4 separate regions of the Homo sapiens genome follow, and all the other regions are linked to region 3. The links are contacts of gene promoters, found by promoter capture Hi-C in blood cells and fetal thymus (Javierre and others, 2016). All regions are on one chromosome and are shown on one strand. The core of a region is centred on a gene start or on the middle of the fragment in contact, and the rest is flanking DNA. Distances in the headings are between cores, read along the strand shown.

What was found. The method cuts DNA at HindIII sites, captures the fragments that hold promoters and counts their contacts. A CHiCAGO score of 5 or more calls a contact.
Region 1: the fragment with the promoter of CETN3 here is called in contact with the fragment with the promoter of CHD1 in region 3 in 5 of 17 cell types (total CD4 T cells, fetal thymus, total CD8 T cells and 2 more); the score reaches 9.8 in total CD4 T cells.
Region 2: a fragment that was not itself captured here is called in contact with the fragment with the promoter of CHD1 in region 3 in 1 of 17 cell types (activated CD4 T cells); the score reaches 6.4 in activated CD4 T cells.
Region 4: a fragment that was not itself captured here is called in contact with the fragment with the promoter of CHD1 in region 3 in 1 of 17 cell types (non-activated CD4 T cells); the score reaches 8.0 in non-activated CD4 T cells.

Annotation. Positions count from the first base shown.
Region 1 is chr5:90,407,371-90,414,265 of GRCh38, forward strand. It overlaps CETN3 (centrin 3), which reads right to left and starts at 2,386. Exons shown (of 5, transcript NM_004365.4): 1 at 2,275-2,386; 2 at 329-464. The coding sequence starts at 2,291. It overlaps LOC731157 (a long non-coding RNA gene), which reads left to right and starts at 2,630. Exons shown (of 2, transcript NR_105024.1): 1 at 2,630-2,934; 2 at 3,130-3,299. RefSeq lists an enhancer at 2,156-2,355. The HindIII fragment of the contact is 6,726 bases long and covers 1-2,476 here.
Region 2 is chr5:91,284,759-91,291,575 of GRCh38, forward strand. No RefSeq gene overlaps it. Among named protein-coding and RNA genes, the nearest start is that of LUCAT1, 26 kb to the right of the region's middle. The HindIII fragment of the contact is 809 bases long and covers 960-1,768 here.
Region 3 is chr5:98,926,944-98,933,888 of GRCh38, forward strand. It overlaps CHD1 (chromodomain helicase DNA binding protein 1), which reads right to left and starts at 2,064. Exons shown (of 36, transcript NM_001270.4): 1 at 1,596-2,064. CHD1-DT (CHD1 divergent transcript) reads left to right here and starts at 1,619. Exons shown (of 4, transcript NR_151718.1): 1 at 1,619-1,699. LOC100289230 (a long non-coding RNA gene) reads left to right here and starts at 2,191. Exons shown (of 1, transcript NR_036530.1): 1 at 2,191-4,066. RefSeq lists silencers at 1,208-1,837, 2,098-2,307 and enhancers at 2,081-2,979, 2,468-2,797, 6,753-6,932. The HindIII fragment of the contact is 7,543 bases long and covers 1-3,738 here.
Region 4 is chr5:90,520,159-90,526,510 of GRCh38, forward strand. It overlaps LYSMD3 (LysM domain containing 3), which reads right to left. Exons shown (of 3, transcript NM_198273.2): 2 at 4,877-5,142. The coding sequence starts at 5,131. Among named protein-coding and RNA genes, the nearest start is that of LYSMD3, 6.2 kb to the right of the region's middle. RefSeq lists an enhancer at 4,108-4,609. The HindIII fragment of the contact is 4,027 bases long and covers 244-4,270 here.

The sequences.
Region 1 (6,895 bases), core at 1,136-3,635, 8.5 Mb before region 3:
AAAACAAAAAACAGTGAAAAGAAGATGGTAAGAATAAATTCCAGTTTGAAATCCTTTAATTATGACAGTGAAAAATAAGCACCTTCCCTGGGAATGTATTTTTACATTTAAAATACTATTCGTTTTCTCATGTGAAAAAGATTTTCTAAAAACTATGTTAGGAGTTCTCTTCAGTTTTATTACAGCATCTAACTATGAATGCTTAAAATGCCTTCATAGTTCCAAAACCAATTTAGTTAAAATAATTATTTAGAAATGTAATGTAAAGCAACTGTAAAAATGCAAATCATTTTAACACAGAAACAAATATTTTAAAGTATACCATTACCTTTAATTCATGATAATCTATTGCTTCATCTTTGTCTGTATCAAATAGTTCAAAAGCATCTTTAATTTCTTGTTTCTGTTCCTCAGACAGTTCTCTTCTTTTTTTCCTCTTTGTTTTGTCCACTACAAGCTCACTTCTATGAAATGGAAAGAAAAAGCCCTTAGTCCACTTTAATTCTCTTTACTAACAGAAATTAGCCAATAATTACCTTCTAAATTTCAAAAAAGAAAGTACTTTGGAGAAAGATAGGGAAACTTTCCCTTTATGAGTCAATGACCTGTTTATTCCATAGTCTAAATTGCTATAAATCTGAACTTCGCAAAACTAAAGAGTGTTACAGATTATTAAAAGAAATGAGGACCAAACTTTTCTTTTTCCCAGCTTTTTATTTATTCCCACTAATGTTACTGTGGAAGAAACAAGAACTGTGAATAAGCAACACTACTTTTATGTCTGAAACTCCAACCAACTCCAACCAAAAAAACAAAAACACGTTATCCTACAAGAATGTTAAAGAATTTAAAAAAAATCTCCAAATGAAACCAAAATTCATAACTGACAATCACTATATATCGGTTTACTGTTGATAGTTCTGATAATTATGTTCATAAAATTACAAAAAAAAAGTGAATTAACTTATACAGTATTTTAGCACTGTTGGTTCAAAATGTTTTTAGATTACACGTTTTTAACAGTTTGGCAATTTATGTGTCATTTCCTCCATTGATATTAACAAACCATCGAAAATATTAATGAGTCTAAACATATGACAAATATTAGATGCCAATATACAATGTTTGTGCTTCATTCTATATAAAAATGTGATGAGTCTTGTCTCATTTAACATGTAAACCGGAGGTTAACTTCTCATAAACTCTGGAAACGCTTAAAGAAAAAAAGCAAAAATTATTTTAAAGCCAGAAATGTTTTCCTTAAGAGCTGCCCATCTAAATGTGCTCCAAATTTTCAAATGGAGCCGCAACACTGGAATAACGAGTTTTGAAACACAATCCGGTAACACATTAACATGTCAAACCAGTTGACTGTACTTAAAACACCTATCTAGTTGCATTTGAAAGTCGTTTTGGTCTCTGAAAGCTCCAAAAAAAAAAAAAAAAAGCTAGGAAGTGACTAGTAGGTGCAGTATAACAAAGCTGAGGAAGATCTTCCTTTCATGAGACCTGACTTGACACAAACTTGGGTATTCCTGGGGTCAGTCTTTTCCTTCCTGAGACTTTTGGAGGCCAAGTCCAGAACCGACCCACCCCTGACCCCATCCAAGGGTACCATGATTATCCCTTAGCAGAACATGGAATATTTTCGGAGTGTCGTAAGTGTATGGATAGTTTTACGGTACAACGTCTACATAGTGGGAGAGGGCAACAGAGGGTTAGAGGTTAGAACTGAAAGGTAAAAAAATGCAAGAAATTTAGGAAATCCAAGAGACAGACTGCCAATTAAAGTCACTAAAATGGGTCTCCAATTACACCGTAAAGCAGGGCCCTGGGAGAAGAGGAAAGAGTTTTTGTTATTTCCAAAATTTATAGGTGGGTGATTGCATTAGCAGCGGAGCAGCCGAGGTGGGGCCCTGACCAGGCACACGGATGAATGAAGGGATGTCCGCGACCTGATCTGAGAAACAAGAGTAGAAGCCTCGCGATATTTCATTCCCACCTCGCTCGCAACTAAGCCCAACCTTCTGGCAGTCCAAAGCCCTACGCGCTGACAGAAATAACCTCCTTAGCAGAAATGCACTGGTCTCGTTCCCTGCAGGGCATCAGAGCCCAGAGGGTGAGTGATCCGGGCAGGCTGCCCTAGGCTCCTTTCCCGCGTCCCAAACTACATCCCCTGCCTCGCCTCGGCCCCAAACGTCCTCCCTTCCACACACACCCTCCCTGGGCCCCGCTCCGGGGTGTGGAGAGCACTGCCGCCTCCTTATTACCGACCTCAGAGCTAAACTCATTATCTCTTCGCACAGAGACGTTCCTCTCAAGAACGATTTTAACCCCCTACCCAAGGCAGCAAGACGCCCACAGCCGTTCAACAGACACGAACGACCTCAGCGGCCTCAGGGACCTCCCACAACATAGACACTTTTGAGCTGGATTGGTTGAAATGTCGCTATGGTTCTGCCTATTAGGGGGCGGAAGCTTTACCAGTTCTATTTTCATTGGGTAGGTTTTACGTCAATCAAGGAAAAAAAAATTTTTTTTCTGTGCCCCGCCCACCTCCTAACGCCCCCCCGCCCCCCCAATCTAGGGCCGCTCTCGCCCTTCGGATTGGCTCGATGCGTTTTTCCCCGAATCCTTTGCGGGTCCGGCCTCCGATCCCTGTGTGGCTGTTTGGCGGGTGGGCGCTGTGTTCCTCTCTCGTAAAGCCGTGCGGTCTGTGGGCCGCCATTCAGAAACTGGATGGACAGCTTCGGCGGTGGGAAGGGAAGGGACATGCTGCAGGCCACCCTCCGGCTAGAAGGAGGGAGTACTTGAGGAACAAGGTCTGCGAAAATTGGCTGTGCTCTGTTCTAAAACTTGGAATGGCCTCAGTACCTGGGGAATGTGTTTAAAATGCAGACTTAAATGTCCGTTTCTCCATTCTAATTTCAGTAGGTATGAATCTGCGTTTTTACTCCTCACAAGCCTTCCAAGTGATTCTGAGGCAGGTGCTGTGGCTGTACTTGGATTATCACAGGGTTAGATTATCAGGCTATTTATGATTTAGCTGTATCTAAACCACCTTTCCCTCTCTTTCCTCCTTTGAACTGTTTGAAACGGATTTGTTCCCTTCTGTCTCTTATTTTTCAGTGCTGTAAGCTGTTAACACACATGAGACTGTCTTCACTACCAAACCAAGTCTCCTAAAGCTCACTTGAATGTCTGCTTATTCGTGTCTCTTACTAGGTTCAATTTCTTGGAGGCCGTGATTATATCTATTTAACGCTTTTCCTTGTACCTAATAAAATGTCTGGTGCGTAGGTGCTCGGTAAATTGAGTGGAATCTTTTGAAAATCCACAAAATACTGAGCTAAACAGCAAATCTCATAAACGTGAATAAAATAGCCTGAGGATGGGAGTTGAAGGCGGAGAATATATAAACATTATATGTTTAAGGGATGTATATAAAATTTTAGAGAAGGGAGAGAACACAAGATATGCTTCTTAAAGGAGGTGACATAAACGTTAGACCTAGAAGGATGGGCTAAATTTGCACAAGGAAAGATAGTATGATAGAATAAGCTAAAAATTAGCTAAGGGATAGCACCCCTAAAAAACAAAAGTGGAACTTTTATTTTGTTCGTATTTTAAATTTTAAAGTACCTTTATAAATCACCTTTGAGTCTAAAAGGAAAGAGAAATTGTAGTTACTAGAACATAATGATATTGAAAAAAACTATATGTTAAAATTTTAAGATACAGACCAAGTTATAGGAGAACATTATTTTAAATAAGAAAGAATAAAAATAGGCCAAGCATTTATTTGAAGATGTTAGAAACGAAGAACAAATTGTATAATTGAAATTAGGAAGAGGAAATTAGTAAAGATAAAGTTTGAGAACAGTGTTTTAAAAGGAAATTGGTAAAATTGATAAAGTACTCATAATCTAGTATAAAGCTGGTTTTTGGCAATACCAGTGAAATTCAAAGACTTATAGGAAGTGTAACAAGAAAAGGAATAGTGCCACTAGTAAGGTTGGTAATTTAATAAAAGGGAGGTTTAAAAATTATTAAAATATTTTATACAATTTTATACCGCCAATAAATATTAATAGAAAATGAAATAGTCACTTTTCAAGGAAAACATAACTCAAAAAAGGTGGAAAACTGAATTAAGTCAATAACTACAGACAGGACTGGAACAAAGATGCCAAAGTTCTGTACTCACAAATAAAAAGCCTCCAGCCCACTCAGATTTATGATTAAAAATCATAAGAGCTAAATCTTGTGCTTTAAACTCAAGTCATAGAAAATGATGGAGAGCTTCTTAGCTTAATTTTTGAAGCTGCCATAATCTTTCACATCCTAAAAGAACATTTAAAGTCACTCAGTGTAAGCTCAGTGATGATGAAGGCTATGCATGTTTCTCACCATTGTATCCCCAGTGCCTGACTCATGTTTGATGTTCATTTGTGAACTTAAGTGCAAAATTCCTAGATGTTAGCAAAGTCAGTTTGATACTGTCTTAAAGGAACATTTCTCTATAACTAAATTGAGTTTTTTTTTGTTAAGTGCAAAGATAATTCAAAATATAAATCTGTGTTAAATAATTATAATGTTAGGTTAAGGAAATCATCTCAGTGTCAAAAAGGCACTGAATAATAGGTAACACCTTTTCTATTAGGATATAAAGTGGGTTTAGAAAATACTTTTTTAAATATGATCGGCAGAATACTTAAACACCAGTGTTTCTCAAACCTCATTCCTGAAACACTAGGATTTTGTGAGATGCTTTTGGTCTCAGAGTGCGTTTTATAAGCAAATAATTTGGGCAAACAGATTTTAAAAGGTTTTCAATAGGGTGTCCTTTTAAGAGAGTGACAGGGAATTTACACGCATCACTTTTATTATATTTAATTAGTGAGAACTAGTGACAACCACTTCTTGCTTCACGGGAGGTTGAGGCAAGAAATCTCTAGATGGAAAACTGCTCTGCTGAAACTTGGGGTCTAATCATCTATTACTAAAGATAAGACAGGTGGTTACACTAATTATATTTTAAACCTAAATTTGATGCAATCAAAATTCTCATATTTTTCTTGAATTGAACAAAGGTATTCCAAAGACCATCTCAACAACAATTCTATAAAAATAACTTACTAAACTGTGAAAAAGAATAATAATACAAAAATTGCTGTATGGGACACTAAAATGTATTTGGTACAATGGTAATCAGACCAGAAATTCCAGAGACAGCCAAATGTAAATAAAAATGTCTGCTTTGAAAAGGTAGTGACATAAATATTTGTTTAGTCTGCCTCCTAAAGCCTTAATAAATCAAGAGTTCCTCTATCACCCACGCTGGAGTGCAGTGGCATAACTCACTGTAACCTCAAACTCCTGGGCTCAAAGGATCCTCCCGCCTCAGCTCCTGAAAAGTTAGGACTACAGAAGCATGCCACCATGCTCAGCTAATTTTTTTTAAATTTTACACTGTGTTGCTGTGTTGCCCAGGCTGGTCTAGAACTCCTGGTCTCAAGTGACCCTCCAGCCTCAGGCTCCCAGAGTGTTGAGATTACAGGAATTAGCTCCCATGCCTAGCCAATAAATTAATTTCTAAAGCTGAAGTGACCTGGAGAGGGACCATCAGCAGACTAGGTATTTAAAAAATTATTGGAAAGATCAAAAGAAATATGGAAACTTGTTGACAAATGAAACAGATCACTGAAGTGGCATCCTATAATTTTCCAGAGATGACTTATGTTTCACAGAGAGTTGATCTACCTAGCAAAGTCCCAGAGAGACTCCAGGAATAGAGTTCCCTTGTACAGTAGAAGGTGGAAATGAGAAGGGGGCTAAAAACAAAATGTCAATTTAAAACCTCTTTAGGAAACCACTGTACTTCAGTTCCTCCAGATTCCTCTCCCCAGTGTTTTGTCTCTTTACATCTATCTAGAACTCCACTCTTTTTTTTTTCCTTTTTTTAGAGACGGGGGTTCTCTCTGTTGCCCAGGCTGGAGGGCAATGACATGGCCTTAGATCATAGCTCACTGCAACCTCAACCTCCTGGGCTCAAGCAACCTCCCACCTTGCGCCTTGGCCTCCTGAAGTGCTGGGATTACAAACGTGAGCTACGGCACGTGGCCTGAGTCTTTAAAATGAATGAAGAATGAAAAACCATCAGAGATATGAAAATCAACAGCATGAAAGATAAAACTAAAAACCATTTCAGGAAGACTCTGAGTCAGCTAAGGAACCAAAATAAAATAATAAGAAATTAATAATAATAAGCTGCCTAAGAAGTACTCAAGAAAATATTAGAGAACAGAATACTCTGAAAAAGGAGCATTGGAGAATAAGAAAAGACTGTTGAAAATAAACATGAATGTAAAAATTAAACTGGCAAGATGATTTAATTGAAAAAATATCACAAAACTTGCAGTATTCAAACAAAAACATGGAGAATTTTGAGAAAAAAATGGAGGACTAATTCATTATTTGACTAATAAGAATTTCTGAAAGAGAGAACAAGAGGAGGAGGAGAAAAATATCACACATTGAAAAGATACTTCGAGGAACTGAAGATAAATACAGGTCTCCAAATTGATAGAACACATTTAGTACTGAGCAAAATAATAGTAAAAGAACCACACCTAGACACATAAAGAAGCCATTTCAGAGCATCAAAAATAAAGAAAAAGGCCTAAAAGCTTCCAGTCACAAGAATCTGACCTTTTATAAAAGAATTTAAGAATTGAGCTAGTATCAGATTTCTCATCAGAAACTTTAGATACCGAAAGATAATACCTTCAAAATTGTAAGTGAAAATTATTTTGAACTTAGAATTCTATTTCCTGTCAGAACAAAACTCAATTATGAGTACATAATAAAGATTTCAGAAAGTTCAATTATCATA
Region 2 (6,817 bases), core at 114-2,613, 7.6 Mb before region 3:
GAGATACAAACACAACTGTGTTACAATTGCCTATAGTATTCAGTACAGTAACATGCTGTATAGCTTTGTAGCCTAGGAGCAATAGGCTATGTAAACCAAAAAGTGAGACAAATCTCATCAATTTAGAGGCTTATTTTACTCAGACTGAGGACACACCAGGAAAAAGAGACACAAGTTACACTAGAATCTGTGGACTGTGTTTTTTCCAAAGAGTCTTTAGGACTTCAGTTTTTAAAGGAGAAAGAGCAGGCAGGTGGGGAAAGAGCAACAGTCAATTATACATTCCTCTCACAAAGTAAATCTGCATTTTATGTAGTATAAACATAGAGTAGAGAAAGAAATTGTATTAGTCTGTTTTCACGCTGCTGATAAAGACATACCTGAGACTGGGTAATTTATACAGGAAAAAGAGTTTAATGGACTTACAGTTCCACAATGGCTGGAGAAGCCTCACAATCATAGCGGAAGGAAAGGAGGAGCAAGTCATGTCTTACATGGATGGCAGCAGGCATAAAAAGGAGCTTTTGCAGGGAAATTCCCTCTTCTAAAACTGTCAGATCTCATGAGACTTATTCACTATCACGAGAACAGCATGGGAAAGACCCGCCCTCAGGATTCAATTACCTCCTACAGGGCCCTTCCCAGAACAGGTAGGAATTCATGATGAAATTTGGGTGGGGACACAGACCATATCAGAAGTCAAACATGAATATTTCTCAGGGTGGGCAGAGGGATGATTTCTAATCTTGTATTTGTCCAGTACCTGTGAAGGTAAACTGTTAATTTACGTTATCAGGATGTGATTCCACAGAACTCTGTTTTAGGATAAAGACTTGGGCCCACAAAGAATTTCATTGTGAGCAGTTTGTGAGGGAGGCCACGTGGGGAGCTATGTGGCCCTCTGTGCTGCAGCTGTTTAGGAGCAAAAGGAAGGCAGTTTTTGCATGACTTCTTTCCCAAGCTTAACTTCTCCCTTTGGCATAGTGAGTTTAGTATTCCAAGATTTTATTTTCCTTTCACAGCTATACTATATAGCCTAGGTGTATAGTAGGCTATACCATCTAGGTCTGTGTACTCTGTGGTGTTCACACAATGATGAAATCACCTATGGATTTGTTTCTCAGAATGTATCTCCATCATTAAGCAATGCATGACTGTATTGACAGACTCAGAATTATTTCCTTTAATAAATTCATTCAGTAATCTCTGCAATTTTCAGTACTAAATCGTGGGACGCTTAACGGTGACTATCTTTACCTCTGTACTTTTGCACTAGTTCAAGGCACATGATGACTTCCCTTCTCCTGTCTCTGTATTCAAATCCAACTCAGCCTTAATGCACAGATAAAACTCCTATTTTCTCTTTGAAGACTGATCACTAACACCTCAAGCCAAATGGATCTCACCCTCTGCAGGACCTTGTGGCATACATTGCTGTTCATGTCTTATCCTTTTGACATTTGAACTTCAGCCATGTCAAGTGGCTATGTCAGTGGTTTACATGTCTCATAAGTGTCTATATAAATGTCTCTCCAACTAAACTGTAAGCACTCTTGAGACAAGAGACAAATTCTTACATGCATGTTATAGCATCCACAATAGGTAGCAACATTCTCTGAACATTGGCGCTCAATAAATAGCAATGCAATCTTTGGCATTTTTAGATGGATACAGAAACTTTGTGATTATGAAGTTTAATATTTCATATATTTAGCAAGTAGGAGAACAGATCACAAAGAGACCTATTCCAGATCGTAGAGCTCATAAAAGCTTTGGGAATGTTCATCACAAGCATTGCTAATTCAGTGACCGTGGGCAAGATCCTTAGCTGCTCGGGCTCCGTTTTTCCTTTTGAAAAGTAACAGGAGTCGGTGCAGGGACGGGTAGGGACACACGAACACACACACAAAGAAAAGTAAAAGAGTTTATACTTTGTGATCCCAAAAGTTCTTCCCAGATTTTTTTTTTAAAAACACAGCTTAATGAATACTGTTATGAGCCAGATAGATACTAAACACTTTGTCAACATTTTAAAATTTGATCCTTGGAAATACAGCTTTGTGAGGTGAGGTGGTATCATTCCTATTTTCACAGATAAAGTAACTGAGAAATAAGAAGTTTAAGTAACTTTCCCAAGGACACTCAACTAATAAGCAGCAGAAAAGAACTGGATTGGAATCCAGGCCCGTCCAACTGCAAAGCTTGAGATCTTATACTATTCTGCTTCATTTCTGCACTCTTCATTTTTATAGAGAGACTATAACTGAGAAAAGTTAAATATTTCACCAAGAATTTCACATCTAGGAATTGGTAGAGGTAGGACTGGATTCCAAGACTAGCTCTCTTTCCCTTATCATATGCTTCAGGTATCTATTTTATCAACAAAAATTCAGAAGGGGATTGTTTTAGTTGATTTCAGTGAGTTAATTCGTATTGAGTATAATTCAACAGTGAATGTAGTTGATTGTGTTTGTTGAATAAATAAATGAGTTTATTTTCTAGTTTAGAAAACTTTTCTGTCTGGGCACAGTGGCTCATGCCTGCAATACCAGCACTATGGGAGGCTGACGTGGAAGAATTGCTTAAGACCAGGAGTTGGAGGCCAGCCTGGGCAATATGGCAAAACCCCATCTCTACAAAAAATACAAAAATTAGCCAGGTATGGTGGTGCATGCCTACAGTAGTTCCAGCTACTCAGGAAGCTGAGGAGCAAGGATGGCTTGAGCTCAGTAGGGAGGCTACAGTGAGCCATAAATGTACCTGGGCAACAGAGCACTCCAGCCTGGGCAACAGAGTGAGACCCTGTATTTAAAAAAAGAAGAAGAAAGAAAAAGAAAAAAAAGAAAAATTTTCTGACGTACCTCTGTGCTTCACCAGTTCTAAGCAAAAGTGGGTGAGAAGGTTGTTAGGGATTTCAATAACGTAAATGTAGGAACACACCAGGGTGTGAGGGGTGGCAATCACTATAATATATGAACCAGCCTTTATAGGGATGTTATTGAGAAAAGTAGAAGAATATAAAATATATTCCCTTTTAATCAAATCCAAAAGAAATAATGACACAATTCACATCATCGCTATCTCCAAGGAAGAATAAACATATCTCCCTATCTTGAGTTCAGATTACAATTTGAATCTCCACAGTACCCAGTTTTCCTCAGGGAAGAATCTCTGAAGTTATAGCCCATGAACTACGTAAAATAATTGCCACAGCCTCCTGCCTACAGAAGTTTGTTTTCTACTTTAAGGAACAAAGTCAAGAGAGAAATTCTAGGGCACTTGAGGCAATCTTTGCCTATGTTCTTTCCTTGAATAAGCCCCAGAAATGTCCTTGCGGGGTACCTTGTGGAGCCAGGCAGGCCTTGACCCATTAGGTGATGAGAGCCTACCTGAGAGCCCTCTGTGGAAAAGAAAAAATATGGAAGGCCAGGATCTGCACTGGAAGGATGATGACAATGATGACCTCATTATTTGCCCCCAACCAAGATATTCTTAGATCTACTCTGGGATTTTCTACAGCCAGACCAGAGCATAAAGTTGGCATTCATCCCAGCAGATGAAAACTTAAGCAATTCCTCAGCATTTCCATGGACCCTGAGGAAACAAGTAATAGAAAAAAAAAGGCCAGACTCTTTCCCATGGCTTCAAATATCAGAGTTGCCTTAAAGTGATTATTTACAACCATGTATGTGTTTATTCCACGAGTGTGCATAATATATGCTTTTGTTAAATGTGATGGGGAGAATGATTCACTAACATTTCTAGATAAGTTTTGAAGAATACAGGAATTTTGGATACTCTTAATGCCATATGTACTTGCCAAGGAACATTTCTTCTTATTATATTAATAACTGTAAGAAAACACAGTATGCTTATTAATACTTGCCAAATGTTGATGTACAAACAGCTTTTCTTTTCAACAAGATAATCAGATTACGTAAAAGATCTGTGTGAACCAGGGCAGGCCTAATTCAGCTGACATTTAGCCATGTGCATCTGTCCTTTTTCATCTGGCTAAGCCTGCGCCTGCCTCTAAACTGCATGCCTTGTAGGAGAGAACCTCCTTTCTAATGGAAAAGGAGGATCTTTGTTTCAGGACCCAGGAATGAAAGACTCAGAGACCCAAATGAATTAAAGACCTATCTGGAATAAAATCTAGGAGTTACCAGCGATGGTGGAAAGCACCTGTAGTCTCATCTACTTGAGAGACTGAGGTTGGAGGATCACTTGGGTCCAGTTCTGGCCTGTAATGCCTTATGTATGCCCATCAGTGTCGATACTGGAGCTGGGCCTACCAAGTGGCCTAAGGAGAAATGAACCCACCCAGATTGGAAACAGCAGGTAAAAAGTCCCACGCTGATTAGAAGTGGGATCATGCCTGTGAGTAACCACTGCACTCTAGCCTAAGCAACATAGGGAGACCATCTCTACAAAATAAAACATAAAAATAAAAATAAAAATTCAGAAGTCCACTGTTAAGATGCTGCTATCCAGACTTTACATTGATATAGGGAATGGCTGTAGTAAACAACACACAAAGCAGTTAATGGTTTTATTCATATGATGAATCATTTACATTCAGTTAACCATTATCTGAATAATGATAATCATAGCATTGCATAGTTTGCCCTTCAACCTGTATTGTTTTTGTTTTTGTTTGTTTGTTTTGTGTGAAGTCAAGGTCTTTCTATGTTGCCCAGGCTGGCCTTCAACTCCTGGCCTCAAACCATCCTCCCATCTTGGCCTCCCAAGCGCTGGGATTACAGGTGTGAGCAACTATGTCTGGCCTCAGCCTATAATCTTTAGCTTTATATAATACCTCTTGAGGCGAACTATCACAGAATGATTATCTCCCTTATACAGATAGATGCTTTTTTTTTTGGATGCTTTTTTGAGGCCACTCAGAAATCAGGAAAAGACTTTATGCCCTTCTTCCAAATACAGCATAGACCACTGGAGACTATGACTGAGTTTTTTATTACCTGGGGATGGGGACTACTGCAGGCTTTGCACCTTGTTAGCATAGAGGGTGGAACCAGGATTGCCAAACCACCATTAAGATGCTTAGGCCAGAAGCACCTTGGAGAATCAAAAGGAAGCCCCAGAGATTTTGCTGTAGATACTGCTCTCTTATCAGAAATGTTCAAATATAACAACTGCTTGGTTACTATATAAGTGCTGTTGCATTAATAAGCCCACCTCAGGACCAGACATCCTACAGGAGCCTTGGACGAAAGCCCAGCATGAAGCAGTGCTCTTCAACGGATGATAGGTTAAGGACCAAGTGTGCAGTGCCTCTGAAGACCTTGGCAAAGAGGAAAGAAACGTCCTTGAGCCCACCCATCCTGGTTCCACCTAAGTAATGAGAAGTGGGGCTGGGGAACAGACTTTCCTCATTTAAAATTTAAGTTTCTATTCTGGCTCAAAAGAAATTTTACCTCAAATTTCCCCAAATCTAGAGGTGCATATCCCTCCCTAAGGGCAAATTCTCAAAAATAAAGAATTAAACATATAAACAAAAATATAAAAGGGGATACATCTTATACACTGACAATAAAGACCTGTCATGAATGTTTTCTTAGCCTCTGTGCATGTACAATTTTGGTAGCTGAATGTGACATGCCATAAGCACAACAGGTAATTATATCCTGCCAGTCAACAGTTCAGCCTCACTGTCAGAATGAGCAAACATAAAATTATAATAATAATTATTTACTACTCTATAATTATAATTATAATAATCATGATCATGATAAATAACATATATTAATGGCTTACTATGTGCCAGGTCGTTGGGTGAACTATGTATCTCATTTAATCTTTATAACAATCCTCTGAGGCACTATTCTTATTACCAGTTTTCAAAAGCAGAATTTTGGATTAAGAAATTTGCCCAAAGCCATCCAGCTATTAAGTGGATAAGCCAAGATTCAAGCTAGGTCTGTTTGCCTCCAAGGCTTATGTTTTAAAAAGACACAGATGGCTGGGCACAGTGGCTCACGCCTATAATCCCAGCATTTTGGGAGGCCGAGGCGGGCAGATCACAAGGTCAGGAGTTGAAGACCAGCCTGACCAATGTGGTGAAATCCCATCTCTACTAAATATACATAAAGTAGCCAGGCGTGGTGGCATGCACCTGTAATCCTAGCTACTCAGGAGGCTGAGGCAGGAGAATTGTTTGAACCCAGGAGGTGAAGATTGCAGTGAGCCCAGATTGCACCACTGTACTCCAGCCTGGGCGACACAGCAAGACTCTGTCTCAAAAAAAAAAAAAAAAAAAAAAGACACAGACACATTTAGTCGTGCAGGTACCTGTGTGTGTCTACACAGCAGGCATGGATAGTCCAGACATAGACTCAGGTATCCTAGCATGTAGCTCTGTACCTCTATCACCGACCTTAACCTAACTCTAGAGTCCAGTAGTTTCCACTGCCAGTGGAAAACTGCATTTTACTGATTGAAAATTCATTCTCTTTTGGGTAATTCTCACTTAGCTCGAGATTACCTTTTCTCTGCCTTCTTCCATCCCCTTTTTGGGGGATGGGATAGCAGGGGGAAGAGTAGAGTGAGGATATGTATATCATTCTGATATCAGGTGGGAAGGGGCCCTTTGCCTTCTATCCTTCCCTATCCTTGCCGGTCCCTGTTGAAGTAGAAACAAATCCACTCGGCCCTACTGGCCTCCACCGCTCATGTCACAGTCCATACACTGCAGAGGTAGATGTAACCTCCTTAGTCTACCCCAAACTCCTTTGGGTCCCTTAGCTACTCCCAGCTACCCTGGTGCTCCTCTTAAGAACTGTGGGATCTGATGGAT
Region 3 (6,945 bases), core at 814-3,313:
CTTTAATCAAGCCCTCACTCCTATCACCAAGAACTTCATACACTTGAGTGAGAAAGTTCTGAAAACGCTCCCATGGGAGGAACAGGCAAATAAAAGATACCATATACTCTCAACAAAAATGCATAGCTCAAAATAAATGTGTTATTTAACAGGTAAACGGATAGTGGGATGATAACATTTAAATAATACTTAACCAGTTTGCACTTGGTTTTTATTTTGTGAAAAAAATTGAAAAGGTAATAGAATATACACTATATCTGATTTTTTACGTAAAAAATTTGGGGCAAGAATAATGAACCAAGACACACCATTTCCACCTTTAAAGATTTCAGTACAACACTGAAGAATCACCTACAAGCCATCCACGAATAAACAAAGGAGATCTCTGGCAGGGGAGGGAGAGGAAGAAGCGGGGGAAGGAGACGTCAGATCCTTCCCCAGCCAGAAAGTACCGAGACAGCCAACTGAGAGCAGAGCTGTCCTCCGACCTCAGCAAAGAGAATTCACTCCTACGATTATTTCCATTCCACAAGAGAGGGAGGGAAACAGATTGTTACCAACTCAATGATAGCAAAGTCTGCATCTGGATCAGGATGTTAATTCTCTAGACTACTGTCCAGTAGACTCTGCAAGAACAGGTTATCTAAAAAGTAACCGTTCTACTCAACATTTATTCCTAATGTTAAATATTAATCTCAACCCTAGTCAAAGTGCCTTACTGAACAATTAAGTCTTAAAAAATCTAAGTATGTTAACAAACTGCCTTTCCCGTTTCTTCCTTTAAAAAGTTCACTCCCCTTTTCGTTCTTTCCTTTTCACCTTCCTTTCGTCCCTCAAAATGGCTTTCTCTGTACATTTTAACTTCCTTTCCCCTCCATCTCCCTTATCCGAATAAGTCCTCTGAGACCCTTTTCACAACCCTGAGTTCTGAAGCTCCAAGCGCACACAGCGCTGTGTCCTCTCAAGCGTCTCCACAATGACTACCCTAAGTTATTAAACCTCTTCAATCCTCTGTCTTTTAGCAGTTGCTTTGCTCCTGCTAAGTTTTTAAAGCGGCACTCGAAAGAGGTTTGGAAACCATCCTCACTCATCCATCCAGCGCGCTCCAATCAGCCTCCCTCGCGGACCTGCCCCCCTCTCCCAGGGCCTCCATCCCGGTCCAGGAGTCCCTCTTCCCGCCTCAAACTTCCCGCAGACCCGCCCCGCGCCCTCCCAGGCTCGCCCGAGCCGCCGCCCCCTCCCCCTCCCGCCGCTCCCCACGTGCTGGGAGCCCGGGTCGCGGCAGGACCCACGCACCGGCTAAGTGCTAGCCATTCGCGGGTCTCCTCTCGCGGCCCGGTCGGCACCAAGCCGAAGAGGCCGGGGCAGGGCCGCCGGGCCGGCGCAAGGATGCGTTCTGCGGCCCCGGCCTGTACTCGCCGCTCACACGCCCCCTGCGCGCCAGGCCCGTACACCGCCACCGGCACTCACAGAGCCACCCGGCCTTCACCCGGCCGCTGGGCCGCCGCCTGGGCACCGCGCCGCGCCCGCCCTCCGCCCGGCCGGTTCCTGTCCTCTCCGCCACATCCTGACCCGCCCGCCGCCCCCTTTCTTACCGGCGGGCTTGGCGGGGCGGAGGGAGCCGACTCGGGTGGACGGCCTCCCCCGCGCCCAGGCCCGGGATCTCCGCCGCCCAGTCCTAGGGCTCCGGCGTCTCGGGGTAAGCAAGAGTCCGTGCGGGGGAGGGGGAAGGGGACAGACGCGGAGGGGAAGGGGAAGCCCCGGTCCGCAGCACCAACGCGCGATCCCCTGCGGAGTGGAGCTAACAATTCATTATTGAAGCACCAAGGGCGAGGGCAGCAAGAGCTATAAGTAACCAGTCGTCGCCGCCGCCGCCGCCGCCGTCGCGCGCGCGCTCCCGCTCCCTCCGCTTATCTGCCCCCGGCAGCCGCCATGACGCCGAGAAAGCAAGCGAGCGCAACCGTCTCCGTCGTAGCCGCCGCCGCCACCGAGGTCGCCGTCGCCTCCGCCTCCCGCGCGACGTAAGCGCCTCTGCTCACTCCCCTTCCCGACAGAGCGCGAGGCGGGCGGGCGCGCGCACGCCGAAGCCTTTCTGCTCGCGCGCGGGAGGCGGGAGGGACTACGTTGAAGGGTCGTGGGCGTAGGAAAAAAGCGATTGGTGCTGGGGCGGGGCGGGGGGGGCGAGTGCGCGCACGCGCACGAATGGGAGTGCGCACGGCGGATGCGCAGAGGCTGTCGGACTCTGACTGCGCGGAGACCGCTGGACTCTGGTCGCGGCCTTAGTCCGCTGATCCTCGCTTGGGTGCCCGCCCTTAGCGGCCCGGCGTTGAATTCCGGGAAGTGGGAGCTTCAGGCTCGCTCCGTGCGGGTATGGGCGCTAATGTCACTTGGGATGGTTGCGCAAGGACATCGCGGCGGACACTGACAAGGAACCGGGGAGGAACGGGGGTGGGGAGAGACTGCGATGGGACTCGGGAAGCCGGGAAGGGCCGCGCTGAATAAGCCTAAGGGGCCGGGTCGCAAGGAGTGTCGGGTAGCACAGGCCTCGGCTCAGTCGGAGCGCCAGGCCTCAGGGTCCGGGCGGGGGCTGCTGCGTCACACCAGGCAGCCTGGGAACGCAACTGTTGGGCAACCGTGGTGGCCTCTCGCCACCTCTTACGCTTGGGCGATCTGCGATTGACGCATCCTGGGAGCTGATGTCCCGCACGGGCGGGGCGCCGGAGGAGGAGAGAAAATAGAGACCCGGTTGTTGACAGCCTGTGATGCCGCTTGATTCATGTGTGGGTGGCCTGGTTTAGAAATGTACCACCCTTCCTTTCTAGGTTCCTCCCCGGAGGGCGGGGTGACGGGTGCGGCGCCGAATCGCAACAAAAAACGCTGCTCGAGGGATGTTAGTAACTGTCTCAGCTTAAGTTGCTGCCTTTTAGCTTACAGTTTGTATCGTAACTGTAATTGTGGATCTTAGTTAAATCCCTTCAGTGTGTTGGAAACATATTTTTAAGTGTATTTTTGAAACATACTTAGAGCATTTTGAAATGCTTTTTTGAAAGCGTTTTTTAAATCAAAATTCTGTTACACTTTATTTTTTTCAGTCTGCAGATGAACTTGACTCACTCAAGGTTAATGATTTTTGTTTTTTATTTATGTTTGTAGAGGCGGGGTTTTGTCATGTTGCTAGGTTGGTGTTGAACTCCTGAGCTCGAGCGATCCACCTGCCACTGCCTTCCAAAGTGCTGGAATTACAGGCGTGAGCCACGGCGCCCGGTGGCCGAGGTTAATAATAATTAAAAGTTTCTAATCCCATTGTTCAGTTATTTGATTTGGTGTAAAGGCGCACTTTCCAAGTCAGATGAGTTTGTGGTAACATACATTCCCCAAATAATTATTTTTCCCTTGTGGGAAATATTCCAGTTTTAGGCTACCAGCTGTTTAAACAGTTTGGTTCAAATCCTTCAAAAAAATCTCAAAACATAACTCCACATATGTATTTACTACATATTGAAGGGTGTATTCACTTGGAGAAGTAGGAGAAAGCAAACAGATGCCAATGGCCTTTTTGAAAACATGTATCTATCAGCAATAATTGAATAGCAAAACGAAGTGGAACACTACCATCCTTTGCAATATTAGATAGTTTTAATACTGGGTTGTGAGGAATGAAAAGATCATACAAATCGTCATTTCTGAAGTCATTTCTGAAGTCGTCATTTCTGAACTGAGTGCTAATTTTTCATATTAAGCTTTATGTTAATATCCTTAATGAGAGGAACTTCCTGTGCCCGTAATTTCTCCAGAGAAACTATTAACATACACAGAATGTTGTAATCAGAAGTATAGTTCAGTTAATAAAGTCCTCAATTACAACTCTGACATTTTGTCATTGTCTTATGAAAAGAATTACTGTATATACAGTCTATTTTACGTTTTCCGGAAGCACGTCAGGCAGGTTTTTTGTTTTTTTACTACTAATTGTGCCATTGAATATGCTATTCTGTCGTATTGTGCCATCAAACATGCTATTCGAAAAAAGATCTTGCCCAATTTGTAATAAAATATTGAACATTGGAGATTTAGATTTCGAGTAAAATCATACTTTATTGCTTTGCAGAAGTACACAGTAGGTGGAAAATTGCAACAATCTTGCCAGTTCATTTTTTAAAAAGCGTGTAGGTAATCCAAAGATACCTTTTTGATGATTTGTTATCAACATAGTTAAATTTGCAGTGTCACTTTATTTGAATAAACTAGCTTTATCTCTACTTAGTGGTACTAAAACAATAGCCAAACAGTTGATAATCTCAACACATGACTAACGAAAAATTCCACATAATTAACATTAACCAGGAGGTTTTTGTTACTATTTAATTTCTCATTTTTAAAATTTCATATTCTTTGGAAAGAATATTACTTTTCCGGAATCTAAGACAGCATTTTGTGGGTCCTTAATTGTGATATGCTTTACTAGGTAAAGTACTAAATGGGTATCCTTAGGTGGGGATAGGCTGGGAACCACATATCCAGAATTGTGAAATATATAACATAAACAGGATAACTTGCTCCTTTGTTAGCTTTTTGGATGCCAGGGTTAAGATTTTAATTCCATAATTATGTCCTTGTTGCCTGGAGGATTTGCATATGAGAAACCACAAAAACAATCGGGACATTATTAAAATACCCTAGAATCTCAACCTGTGACAGTATTTCCCATGTCCTTGCAAAACCAGAGGAAGTCTTTCCAATATGATTCTTAAATTTACAAAGTCCTCTGAATAGAAACCATGAAATCCTAAGTCATCTTCTAGTGAAGATTTGCTGTACATTTTCTGTTTTCCTAATAAGAAATTAGAGGAGTTTAGTTCCCAGTGTTGGGCAAGGGATAGGACTCAGTCACCTGGAAAGTTCTTTTGTAACTACACGTGCCTGACACTCCTATTCTTCCCCTCTGCTGATATGCAGAATTTCTAGGTTCTAGGTAGTATTTGGGAAGTTTCCCAGATTATTCTGATATCTACCAGCGGCTCATCCACCTTCTTTATGGTCACTGTATTTGGGGATTTTGAATGATAAATTCTTGAATCACTAAAAGCTAAATTTCAAACAGAAAATTGTTAGAGATGATACTAAGAGGCAAGTATGTATAAAATCTAATAGGCATTGAAGAAGATACAAAGATTCCATCCTCTACTGAAAAATTAAGTGTGCACGCAGAGTAAGAAAGAAGGTTAAGTAGCCAACCTCAAAAATATTTAAAAATTATTGCATTGATGCTGTATCACTCATTTCCTTGCCCAGATTCTTTTTTTTTTTTTTTTTTTTTGAGACAGAGTCTCACTTTGTCACCCAGGCTGGAGTGCAGTGGTGCTATCTCATTTCACTGCAATCTCCGCTTTCTGGGTTCAAGTGATTCTCATGCCTCAGCCTTCCAAGTAGCTGGGACTACAGGCACGCGCCACCACACCCAGCTAATTTTGTGTACTTTTAGTAGAGACTGGGTTTCACCATGTTGGCAAGGCTGGTGTCAAACTCCTGACCTCAGGTGATCTGCCTGCTTCAGCCTCCCAAAGTGCTGGGATTACAGGTGTGAGCCACCATGCCCAGCCCTTGCCCAGATTCTTTATTCACTGCTGTCCAAATACTGTTGGTCCTCTGTACCTGCAGGGATTTGCAGGTACAGAGGCTCAACTATAAGGGACTTGAGCATCCCCAGGTTTTGGTAAATGGGGGTCCTGGAACTAATTCTCTGCAGATACTGAGGGACAAACGGTACCACTCATTTTAATGCAGAAATTTTGTATTCATCCTTTCTTTTTAACTCCCACTACCGGGCTTAGTTTAGGCCTCTATTTTCTCTATCTTTCCCTTCAGCTTATCCTTTAGGTTTCCTTCAAACTTGAAATCTAACTAAATCAGTCCCCTGTTATATACCACATATATTTGTAAACTAAACATATATGAAGATGTATGTACATATCATATATTCCTAGTATTTTAGTTACTTAATTTTTTCACAGACTAATCTCAGTATTGCCTCTCATCATTCCTAATGGACACTTGGTACTCTAGACACTTCTTCAGGTCACTGGAAAGGTATCTCTCATTGTAAGTGGATATAACCCATTTATCTTATGGGTCAGTCTTTCATAAGTTCGTTTAAGTAAATGCTCAAGAACTGTTGAGTACCTTGACACAATTGTGCTGACAACCTATAAGACTTGTCAGAAAACTCTCTGACCTCCCTTTTAGGACATGGAATTGAGTATTCTGTAAGTGCGGCATGTCATTGTATCACAATATAGCATTTGTTTCCATACTACATTGTGAGGTCCTTGAGCAAAGAGTACTGTGCCCCAGTGCATTGTATTGATATTCATTCAATACAAATGTAAGAATGTATTACATACCAGACATTCTGCTGAGGGTAGGGAGGGATTATAATACAGCAAAAACTAACACTTTCAAAGTTAAAGCCTAGTTCAGGACACAGTCACACTATAAAATGACAACTTAGAAAAATAGTATGAAGAGACATACGGTGCTGTGAGAATCCATAATAAAGAACCCTAGTCAGAAAAGTCTCAAGGAAGTGACGTGATCGTTGTGGTCTAGAGCTGAAGAATTAATATGAATTAGGTAGGCAAGAAAGGGAAGTACAAGAGCTGCTTTCTGGGTAAAAGAAACAACATGGGCAAAGATTCTGGGGTCAGAGAGATCACGTCAGTGCACTTGCCAGTTTGCCAAGAACAGGCCGTATTCACTTTCAGAAGTGTTCAGGTTTGGATAGTAAATTGCAGGGCCATCCTATCTATAAGGGACTCTAAGAAGCATGGTTCTGCTGGAGCAAACAGCAGCTGGACAAGATGAGGCTACATAGACACTAGGCCCAAAGGCTAAGTGAAGTATGTTTTTCAAGACAATGAGGAAGCTATTGAAGGATTTGAAACTGGG
Region 4 (6,352 bases), core at 1,007-3,506, 8.4 Mb before region 3:
AAGCTTTTTCTCTATATATTATACATTCCTCAACCTGTTTGTATTATCCCATCCACTGTGAGATAACCTGTCTGTATATCCTATTCCACTGTGTTGGGGGAAGAGGGGAGTGTCTGGCAGATTACCAATTGGTATGCCAGGCTCTCCCACCATCTATTAGTCCCATTCATTTCCATCAATACTTTAAAACCTAATCATGTATCACCTGATTCATGTCAGAGAGATAAAGTGGGTCTAGTATGAAGCTTAGATTTCTGGTTTGGTCAACTTGATGGACGATGGCATTCATTGAGAAATGGAACACTGTGGAGGGTAAAAAGAGGCTAAATGCAGATTTTAGATATGCTGACTTGGAGCTGCTTGAGATACAGAAGTGGAAGATGTTCAGGACAGAGTTGTAGATATATGTCTGAAACTCAAGAACGATCTCGGCTAGAGACACAGATTTATGGACTATCAGCAAAAATGTAATTGAAGTCAGCCAGACGTGGTGGCTCATGCCTGTAATCCCAGCACTTTGGGAGGCCGAGGCAGGTAGATCACCTGAGGTCAGGAGTTCAAGACCAGTGTGGCCAACAGGTGAAACCCCATCTCTACTAAAAATACAAAAATTAGCCAGGCATGGTGGTGCATGCCTGTAGTCCCAGCTACTCCGGAGGCTGAGGCAGGAGAATTACTGGAAGCCGGGAGGTGGTGGTTACAGTGAGCAGAGATTGTGCCACTGCACTCCAGCCTGGGCAACAGAGCGAGACTCCATCTCAAAAAAAAAAAAAGTAATTGAAGTCAAAGAGGTCAAAGAGTAGAGAGATTCACTAGAAAAAGCCTGAGAGAAAAAAGCAACAAGATCATCCCTGAAGAACTCCAACATTTGATGGGTATGCTGAGTAACAAAAATCCACAAAGGAGATTACGAATGGCCAGGAAGGGAATATACAATAGTGGTTAAAAGCATGGATAACTGGGTTTGAGGCATGGCTTTGACACTTTCTAGCTGTATGACCTGGGGCAAGTTGTTTAACCTCTTTGCCATTAAGGTTCCACACCTGCAATATGGCAGTAATAATACTACCTACATTATAGGGTTGAGGTGAACATTAATGATTTAAATGTTGTAGGACACTCAGAACAGTGATTTATGGTATGTCATATAAAAGTTAGCTATTATTAAATGTTAATAGTAGGAAAACCAGAAACCTGAAAAGTCAAGGTGGTCAAGCAGAGAGGGTCTTTAGCAGGGAGTAGTGAACAGAATCCACTGTAGATTCGTGATCAAGTACAATGAAGACTAAAAGAGGTCAAGCTGGAAAAACTATCTTGCAATGTATGTGTGGGGGGATTGGAAGGAAAGGGTTGAACAATAACTAAAAGATGAAACAGTAAAGATAAAGTGTGTTTTATCATCTTACTACCTTCGCACTGTTTTGTCTTATAGCAAATGAAGATTCACTGAAAAATCCCAGTCTGACCCCATTCTCTTTAAATGCTCTTTTGCTTGGTATTGTGTACTCTTACTAATAACTACTTAATACTCTTTTTGAATTAGGGTTCCAAGGTTTAGTATCTACCTAAGTTATCTCCCTGAATATCCCTATAATGACTTCTATGCTATGCCAACTTCCTTGGTTGCATTCAAGATTCCAACCTTGGACTTTTTATTCTTCTCATCACAGTTGTATAACTGACAGATTTTTAATAATTCTTAAGATTATTTCTAAGTGGAATATACCACTAGCTACTTACTGTATTTTTTAAATGATAGATCCTTTTATAATGATAAATATTTTTATAATTTTTTTTGTTGCTTATGCTTCCATCAAAAAGGAGCACTGCTTATCTTAACTAATTCTGTTCATCCCTTTCCCACTATAGTGGCTGATATGTCCCCACCCAAATCTCATGTCATCTTGTAATCTCCAATGTTAGGGGTGGGGCCTGGGGGAGGTGATTGGATCATGGAGGTAGATTTCCCCCTTGATACTGTCCTGAGTTCTTGTGAGATCTGATTGTTTAAAAGTGTGTGGAACCTCCTCCCTCACTCGCTCTTCTTCCTGCTCCAGCCATGTGAAAATGCCTGCTCTGGCTTTGCCTTCTGCCGTTAAGTAAAAGCTCTCTGAGGCCTCCCCAGAAGTAGATGCTGCCTGCTTATGTACAACCTGCAGAACCATGAGCCAATTAAACCTCTTTTCTTATAAACTACCCAGTCTCAGGTATTTCTTTATAGCAATGTGAACACAGACTAATACAGTGGCCAATGCCATCTCTCCATTTAAGTACTTTTCATCATTCTCATTTCACATAAGCATTCAGCTGATATATCCTGTGATTTCCCCCAATACATTAACACTTCTTCTCTATCCTTATCACAAATATTTTAGTCTAAGTCCTGATCATCTTTATTATTCCAGTAATCTCTTTATTGGATCCCCTTCAATTCATCAGCAGGCCCCTCTGCTATTCTGTATCACTCCTGTTAAAACTCTACAATAATTGTATTCTCTTACTATATGGATCAAACTTTTCCATTCTGTATCACTCCTGTTAAAACCTTACAATATTTGTTCTCTTACTGTATGGATCAAACTTTTCCATAGTGTCTCAAAGCATTTCATCCCAAATAGTCTGTGCCACTCACTTCGGAAATAACTATGAAAATTCCCTTTGTTGTTTACCATATTTCCTCCTTGAAATCTTCTTCACATCACTGTTGAATGCCTGAAACATCTTTACACCTCATTGGAAATATGACCTATTTTTAATTATTCAGATGGTATGTTAAATTTCCCTAAGAAAATTTTCTAGGTTCATTAAAAGAAAGCTAATGTCTTATAAAACTACTGAATCACAAACTCTCCTCTCGGATCTGTACCTTGATGTTTTTTAGCCTTGTGTCTCATTTTGAAGTGTATTCCACCATCTACCTTCTATGACATATTCTGTAATTTATTTATCAATGGTCTTATTTCTCTACAAAACATTTACTCACATGTTTATTTGCATTTAGAAATAAACTTAGATATTTTCTGATTTAATAATGGCAAGAATTGATGTTTTCATACATGAGCAAGGTAGGAGGAAAAAACTACCCAGCTCTTACACCACATCAAAAAATTCATTTTAATAAAATATTTTATTAAATTTTAATATCAAAATTTGAAATGTTTTGATGAATTGTGAATTGTAATAAGAAATGTGAATTATTGCAATAGTTGCAAATGTAGAAGAAAACCTCATGACCATAATTTTTTTAGAATATAAATACATTTATATAATATAAACTTATAGACATGTGTGTTCCTATTGCAGAGAAGTATTACAGGTAATCAATAAAAGGTTTTTCAAGTATAAAAATACTTTACATCATGAAAAATTTGGGGGGAAGATGAAAATATTAATGAGAAAAAGGAATGATATAAAATCTCATGCTATTGAAAAAAGAGCTCTCATACACACACTTTCCACTTTTTTTAAAAATACAAATTTCAGGTAGCAAATCCTGGTGGTACTTAGAATTCTGTGGATGCATTTAAAGAGCACTCTAACAGTCTTATTTTTAAATGTTAATACAACATTCTGAAAATTATACCATTTGTAACTATGTTAAGTCATGAGGAAGAATTTAGGAAGTTCACTTAAAAATGTGCAATGAGGTACATAGTACATATATTTCAAAATTCTATTGGGAGTATGAGAACAAAAAGTTTGAAAACAAATGTTCTAACCAGTTTCCATATCAATGTGGATATAAAAATATCCTGCTAAGGCCTCAAGATGGACATAATGACACAGAGAGAAAATGGGTCCAAATAGAGTATAGTATCTATTAAAATTAAAAATACACCTTTCCTCTTATCTGGCAATCCCACTTTTAGGATCTATCCCACAGAAGTAAAGGCAGTGCCATTTAAAGATATAGTTGTGATGATATTTGCCACACAAGGTAAAACACCAAGAAAATCCTGAGTATCAATTAATAGGGCAATGGCTTAAAAATACTGGAACGTTAATACTACAGACATTATACAACCATTTAAAATAATGAGTTAATAAGGCTTTGAGGGATGGTCATGAGGGTGTCCATGATACACTAAAGAATGAAAAATGCAAGTTGCAGAGTAAAATGCATAATATAATCCACTTTTAAAAATACAAAGATTACTAACTCCCCAAATATGTATATATAAATAAATACTTATGAGCACAAAAAAAGGTAAAGCATTCCTACATGCCAAAGTGTTAATGCTGGTTATCTCAAGAAATTGGGGCAGGGAAAAGCTTTTCCTTACACATTTCCACATTTTCTTACCATTTGAATAAGAAGATAACATAGTTGAGTGTTTTTCAATACTGAAATTCGTGGATTTGGAAATACACAGAAATTCAAGTATTTGTTAAATATTTAAAAAGTAAACATCTACAAATGTGACACAGATTTCTTTTTTCTTTCCTTTTTTGGAGACGGAGTCTCGCTCGGTCGCCCAGGCTGGAGTGCAGTGGCGCGATCTCGGCTCCTGCAAGCTCCGCCTCCCAGGTTCATGCCATTCTCCTGCCTCAGCCTCCAGAGTAGCTGGGACTACAGGCGCCTGCCAACACGCCCGGCTAATTTTTTTGTATTTTTAGTAGAGACGGGGTTTCACTGTGTTAGCTAGGATGGTCTCAAGCTCCTGACCTCGTGATCCACCCGCCTCGGCCTCCCAAAGTGCTGGGATTACAGGCGTGAGCCACCGCGCCCAGCCCATGTGACACAGATTTCTATGCAAAAAATAAGAGCAAAAAATGGAGAAAGGAATAAACAAGGTAAAAAAGGACACAGAATTTATTTCAGTGTGCGTAAACAAATAATTTCTTCTGAATTGCATTATGTAATATTAAAACTTACCGTACAACAGTACTGAAGGGCTATTGCATTTAATGTATCTCCTTCTTGTATATCTTTTGTTAATACTATAATGTCGTCAAGTCTATCTCTTGATGTACTTCTTCGGACTTTCTCTTTTCCTCTGGATCGAAGTTCATACACTTCAGCATCCTCCTCCAAAATATCACTGTCTGAACAATTTCCAAATGCATGTACTTGACCACTTGACTGAACTCCTGGAAGAGGAAAACTACGATTCTGATGCCTCCCTGCCATAATGTTAAAATCTGGAGGAAAAAAAAAGCAGAGAAAATTTTGGAATGTAGCTGATCCAACTGACTGATTTGCATGCATCGTACATTCAGGACACAATCTTTTGTTTTTGTTTTAATGGTTTTAGTTATTTAAACATTTAGGTTTAAGTTCGTTTTTTTGTTTTGTTTTGTTTTGTTTTGAGATGGAGTCTCACTCTGTCACCCAGGCTGGAGTGCAGTAGTGCGATCTCAGCTCACTGCAACCTTTGCCTCCCAGGTTTAAGTGATTCTCCTGTTTCAGTCTCCCGAGTAGCTGGGATTACAGGCGCCCACCACTACGCCCAGCTAATTTTTGTATTTTTAGTAGAGACAGGGTTTCACCATGTTGGCCAGGCTGGTCTCGAACTCTTGACCTCAGGTGATCTGCCCACTTCAGCCTCCCAAAGTGCTACGATTACAGGTGTGAGCCACTGCGCCTGGCCTAGGTTCAGGTTTTACAACTGTTAAAGTAGAACAAACGTATTTGGCAGTGGAGACAAAGGTAAGGGAAGAAGAGGTAATCTCCTCTATTAGATCATATATCACTAAACACGTGGAGTAATTACATATTAACAAAGGCAAATTGCTATAATTCTTTTGGTAAAAATATAACTTATAAAATTAAATACTATAAAATATTACATTAAATATAAAATCGTAAATTCCCCTTATTCTGAGTATGTGAAGAAAATCAGAGAAATAATTGTGTTATGTCTTAAAAACTTGTGACTATATAACTTATAGCTCTGATGGAATCAAAGCATGTTTTATATACACATAATACTTTCATGAATTCAAAACTTTCCAGCTTGTTCTGCATTTCAACTTCATTCAGGATTGGAGTATCTTTCGTATTACTTCCTCCTGGACTTTGGTATTTATATTTAGTGCAGATATGCCTGCAATATAGGTTATGATTTTGCTTCCCTGGAAGCAGGAATTTTTCTTCCCTGGAAGCTTTTTAGCCAACTTAGAGTCCTCATCAAATTCAACTTATGGTCCATAAAGACTGTGAACAGATTTTAGGTTACTGTGTTCATTTATACTTTAGAAAAACCATTGTAAGACTGACTGGGAGCTGACCTAAGTTAAAAACAGGCATCAATGAATACTTTTTGTTTACTTGCATACTAACTCTCAACTCACCATCATCAAGTTGATCTATCTACTCTCTTTAATTAGGAACACAAGAACCTAAAAAACT